Regions from separate parts of the Homo sapiens genome. Here region 2 is linked to region 1. Evidence: promoter capture Hi-C in 16 types of primary human blood cells and fetal thymus (Javierre and others, 2016). All regions are on one chromosome and are shown on one strand. The core of a region is centred on a gene start or on the middle of the fragment in contact, and the rest is flanking DNA. Distances in the headings are between cores, read along the strand shown.

The links. The method cuts DNA at HindIII sites, captures the fragments that hold promoters and counts their contacts. A CHiCAGO score of 5 or more calls a contact.
Region 2: a contact is called between the fragment with the promoter of PLBD1-AS2 here and a fragment that was not itself captured in region 1, in 1 of 17 cell types (neutrophils). The highest score is 6.5, in neutrophils.

Annotation. Positions count from the first base shown.
Region 1 is chr12:14,260,598-14,263,388 of GRCh38, forward strand. No RefSeq gene overlaps it. Among named protein-coding and RNA genes, the nearest start is that of ATF7IP, 100 kb to the right of the region's middle. The HindIII fragment of the contact is 4,043 bases long and covers 1-2,791 here.
Region 2 is chr12:14,528,768-14,531,558 of GRCh38, forward strand. PLBD1-AS2 (PLBD1 antisense RNA 2) reads left to right here and starts at 1,372. Exons shown (of 5, transcript NR_187784.1): 1 at 1,372-1,474; 2 at 2,275-2,443. All of the region lies in intron 6 of PLBD1 (phospholipase B domain containing 1), which reads right to left. The HindIII fragment of the contact is 11,029 bases long and covers 537-2,791 here.

The DNA.
Region 1 (2,791 bases), core at 101-2,600:
CCGACTTTGTGATAAACCTACCAGATAATGTGAGGAGGGTTGGTGTCCACGTGCTCGGGGCCTTGGGAGCCACCAGCGCTGGCTGGACTCAGCCGCTGCGCTCTGCTCCCTGCGCTCGCCCCTCCCCCGCACCCGCAAATGCAGCCAGGAGGAAGAGGCGAGGAGGAATGCAGGAGGCATTCCAGCCCCACCCCCGCAAGCCTCCTCCAGCGAGTTCCGAAACTACTGCTAAGTGGGCTGCAAGGAAGACAGTGAACCAGCTGGTGACTGTACTCCTCCAGGCTTTCACATGATCTACAGCCTGACTACACCCAGCGCATTGAAGGTTGTCCCTTGCTCTCTCTGAGCTAGGGTGTGACAGCCCTTAAAGATGAGGGTAACATCGCGGTAGTCAGTCCAGGCCTGCAAGACCAGGAACAACAGCAGTTACTGTATGCCTAATAACCGACGATTTTCCATCAGTGTCCACACTTACAAATAATGTCATTTTTTAATAGTTATATAAACCAGAAAGGTTAAGAGTTCGGCTACCTCGTGGCAATAAAAGTCCTGCTCTCTGTGTCTGGGTGTCCCCGAGGAGCCCAATCCATGACAAAATCGGAAAAGCCAGAACTAGACCTACACCTCTGCAGCAGTCCCTTTGTGCAGTGATGGAGGAGAGAGGGTCCCTCATTACTGGAGAAGTCATGGGTCGCACACTTTCCAGTCTACGCTAGAGATTTTGTTGCCCTAAGGTCACTTGGTGACAGGAAATGCAGTCCCTGCCCATCCCCCACCCCCAGGGACTAAGTTAAGAACCACTGCCAGAGAACCCTTGGAAGGAGTTAATTGGATGAACTATGGATATTAAATTAAGGCCCAAATATGTTGTCCATTCCACAGAAACTTTTTTTTTTTTTTTGACAGAGTTTCACTCTGTCACCAGGCTGGAGTGCAGTGGTATGATCTCGGCTCACTGCAACCTCTGCCTCCTGGGTTCAAGTGATTCTCCTGCCTCAGCCTCCCGAGTAGCCGGGACTACAGGCATGTGCCACCACGCCTGGCTAATTTTTTTTGTATTCTTAGTAGAGATGGGATTTCACCATATTGGTCAGGCTGGTCTTGAACTCCTGAACTCACGATCCACCCGCCTTGGTTTCCCAAAGTGGTGGGATTACAAGCGTGAGCCACCTTGCCTGGAAAGACACTTACATTTCAGTAGATAAAGTTAATTTACCCCGCTTTAGGAAGTCAAATTAATGGATCTTTGTAGTGAATTTCTAAAGACTCTTACATTGTTATAATCTTCCTCCCCAAAGTTTGATTCTTGTATTCAACATTAATTCAACATTCATTGAAAACTTCCTAACAACCAGGCAATATGGTACTATTGGCTACGCTGGGCTTGTGAGTTTTAAAAATCACATAAAGCGTGGAATGTACTTTCAAAGAGCTTACAGGCTGGGAAGATACACAGGAAGTCAGCTATTCCAGAGTGACATGGCATATCCTTTATAAGGATAGGAAAAAGAGGATGTGATATGGGAGAAAAGAGGAGGGACATGAAAAACAGTAAGGTTGAGTGGAGTGAGATATAGCCAGTGAGTTTCTCAGAAAGAGCTGAGAAATGAGATGGAGTTAGCTAGAATAAAACCAGAGCTAGCAGTCAGAAAAACAGAATTTTCTTTCTTTTTTTTTAGACAGAGTCTCACTCTGTCACCAGGCTGGAGTGCAGTGGCGCCAATCTCGGCTTACTGCAACCTCTGTCTCCCAGGTTTAAGAGATTCTCCTGCTCAGCCTCCCGAGTAGCTGGGATTACAGGCACTCACCACTATGCCCAGCTAATTTTTTGTATTTTTAGTAGAGACGGGGTTTCACCATGTTGGCCAGGCTGGTCTTAAACTCCTGACCTCATGATTCGCCCACCTCGGCCTCCCAAAGCGCTGGGATTACAGGCGTGAGCCACCGCGCCTGGCTAGAAAAACAGACTTTTCATTCCAGATGTATTAACAAACAGGTCAGCTACCAGCCAGAATTAAAAGAACTCAAACGCTAAGACAAAGCAAGGAGTCTGAAGTCCACTAGGTCAGTAGCTTTTCAGGACCTGAAACAGGTGGACTAGCCCAGCAGAAGAACAGATCTGTTTCCTTACCCAGAAACTTCCAAACATCCTATCAGGATAATAACTAAGCTACTAGCACGAAAACCCTGAGAAAAGGTGAGCTATTGACATGCAGATTTCAACATCCAAAGCACTTTAAAATTTCAACATGTTATTTATAACTTTAGATTTCTTAGCAAAACTACACATTACTGGACCTAATATTAGAAGAGTAATTATTAGATACATGATCATGAGTCAGTACTAATGTTTTCACTAAAGTTTTCAAGTAGTCTGCTAAGACCTGTTCACACATGCTAGGCTAAGATCTAGCAGCAATTAAGTTAGGATTTATCCCTGTGCCACATACCCTAACATCCAATCTATTTAACCACTTTGACTCTTAAAGGGCAAAGAAGAAAGAGAGATTCCTTAAAAGATACGGGGACTTGTAGGGGCTGAAGTAGAGAAAGTTTGTTGCTGTTGTAACATCCCAATTTCGAGTCCCTTAGTAAGCACGTTTTCCAGACCCTGATTTTCTTTTCTTTTTTTCTTTTTTTTTGAGACAGGATCTGGCTCTGTTGCCCAGGCTGGAGTGCAGTGGTGTAATCACAACTCACTGCCGTTGCCTCTCAGGCTTAAGTAATCTTCCCACCTCAGCCTCCACAGTAGCTGGGACTACAGGTATGTGCCACCATGCCTGGGTAATTT
Region 2 (2,791 bases), core at 122-2,621, 270 kb after region 1:
ATCATGAATGATAATGGGGACTTTACAGATCCTACAGACATTAAGAGGTTAAGAAAAACATTATAAATAGCTTCATATCAATAAAAACAATAACTTAGAAAGAAGGGATAAATTCCTTGAAAGATACATTTTTAAAACTAACTCAAGAAGAGTTAGAAAACTGAAATAGTTCTGTAGCAGTGAAAGAAATTAAATTTACAATTAATAACTTTTCAACAAATAAAAACCTTCATATCTAGCTTCACGCGTGAATTCTATTAAACACTTAAAGAAGAAAATGGGCTGGGCACAGTGGCTCACACCTGTAATCTCAGCATTTTGGGAAACCAAGGCAGGAGGATCACTTGAGCCTAGGTGTTTGAGGCTGCAGTGAGCTATGTTCACACCACTGTACTCCAGCCTGGGGGACAGAGTGAGACCCTGTCTTTAAAAATAAATAAATAAATAAATAAATAGAATAAAATAACACTAATCATATACATGCTCTTAAAACACTTAGGAGAAAGAAATAATTCCACATTTAGGATATGAGGATAAGCTTATCCTAAAACAAAAACCATCATAAGAAAAGCAGACTACAAACAAATATGTCTCATGAATGTAAATGAAAAAAATCATTAACACGTTAGTAAACTGAACTAAAAATAAATACAGAGAATAACACATCATGACTGAGGATTAACCCAGGAATTTCAAGTGGTTTAACATCTGAAAATCAATCAATGTAACTTATCATATTAATAAAGGAAAAAATTCATATGATCTTTTCAACAATTGCTGAGAAAGAATTCAGAAAAATGCAACACTCATTTATTGATAAAAATATTAAAGAAAGTAGGAAGAGCAGGGACCTTCCTTAACATTATAAAGGGCATCTACAAAAAATCTGCAGTTAACATCATACTTAATGGTGAAAGACAATACTTTTCACCCTAGGTCAGGAATTGGGCAAGGATTTGCATGCTCACCACTTATGGTCTCCATTATTCTGGAGGTCTTCTCCAGCACAATCATACAAAAAAACAATCAAAGACATACAAGGGATGGAAGAAGTCAAACTGTCTTTATTTAGAGATGTCATGATTGTATATATAGAAAATCCCAAGGAATCTACAAAAAAGCTATTAGAAAGATCTCAGGATAATAATGTACAAAAAAATCGTAATACATTGTGGTAGTTTTCAAATTTCCACAAATTCTTTGGCACCCTTCTCTTTAAAAGGTGGATTCTAATCGCCTTTCCTTGAATGTGGGCTGGTCATAACACCTTGCTTCTAATTAATAGAACCTGGTGGAAGTGAGCGTGTGTGACGTCTGAGGTGAGGTCACAATAGGCATTACTATTTCTGCCTTGTTCTTTTGGATGGCTTCGTCTGGAGCCAGGGGTCTTGCCATGAAGGACATTCAAGCAGTTCTGAGGAGAGGCCCAAGTGAAGAGGAACCAGTTGCCAGCACCACCCTGTCAGCTATGTTAGTAAGTCGTTTTGGAAGTGCATGTTCCAGTCTCAGTTAAGCTATCAGAGATTTTAGCCCCTCAGTCATTGAGTCTTCCAGCTGAGGCCCCAGTCACAGTAGAGACAAATTATCCCCACTGTGCCCTATCTAAATTCCTGATCCACAGAAACCATGAGTAACTAAATCATTATTGTTTTTAGCCACTAATGTTTGGAGCAATTTGTTATGTGGCAATGGGTAACCAATAAATACATATGAGCAACAAACAACTGAAAAAAGAATAAAAAACATTTTGATTACAGTAGCATCAAACATTACTTAGGATTTAACTTACTTAAAGGTATGTAAGACCTAAATACTGAAAACTACATGATATGACTCAAATTAAAGACTGAAATAAACAAATAGATTATATTAGTAGATTGGAAGACTCAATGTTGTTGACAAGTAAATTTTCTCTGGATTGGTTAAAACTATCAGATCTTTGTGCTGAGGTCTTCACACAATTGTATTGGCTGCCATTTCAGTGCCGTCATTTTCTAGTGATTTATCTCTTTGTCTTACCTCCTTGATTATTAATTTGCATTGCCAAAATAAGTAAATGTGTGGGGAGGGCTAGTGCAAGGCTTCTCCATTCCTTACTCAGCCTTAGCTGTTACTAGGCAAACAGACCATGTATTCAAAACCCTTCTTGTTAGGGACAGAAACTCCTAGAACAAGGCCATTCAAAGCCACTTTCCTTTGGGTATCCAGTGCCTCAGGCAAGTGTTTTTTGTTGTTGTTGTTGTTTTGTTGTTGTTTGTTTGTCTTTTTTAACAGGGCCCCTGCCTATATAAACAATTTGATTAAAAACATATATTTAAAAATTCATCAGTACATGTGAGATATGATGATTTATCATTGAAGATTTAGGATGATGGGCAGAGAAAGGCAATCTGTTTTGTCTATTGTCCAATCAGTGCACGTGAAGATTTGTTACAGTATCCAGGTACCATCTCTTTGTATTCTTTATTATTAAATGCATTGTTCTTGGCTAATTTCCTATTTTTTGTTATGAGAAAAAGGTAGCAATACTGTTATTACAAAACCATGACTTTTTGGAACCTGTTTGTTTTGAAACAACACAGATCTCCTTGCCTCTGCAGTTCCCTAACACCATTTTCTTAATGACTTTGCGACATCTACCACTCTACCTGTGAATCCTGGCTTCTAATGACTCAAAAATCCTTATTATGCTTTGTTAATGATGACCACAAATGCAAGCCTTACCCAGAGTGTTAAAAAAATTGTGAATGATAATTTGTTTTATGGTTACTAAAGCTACACTGGGAATTTT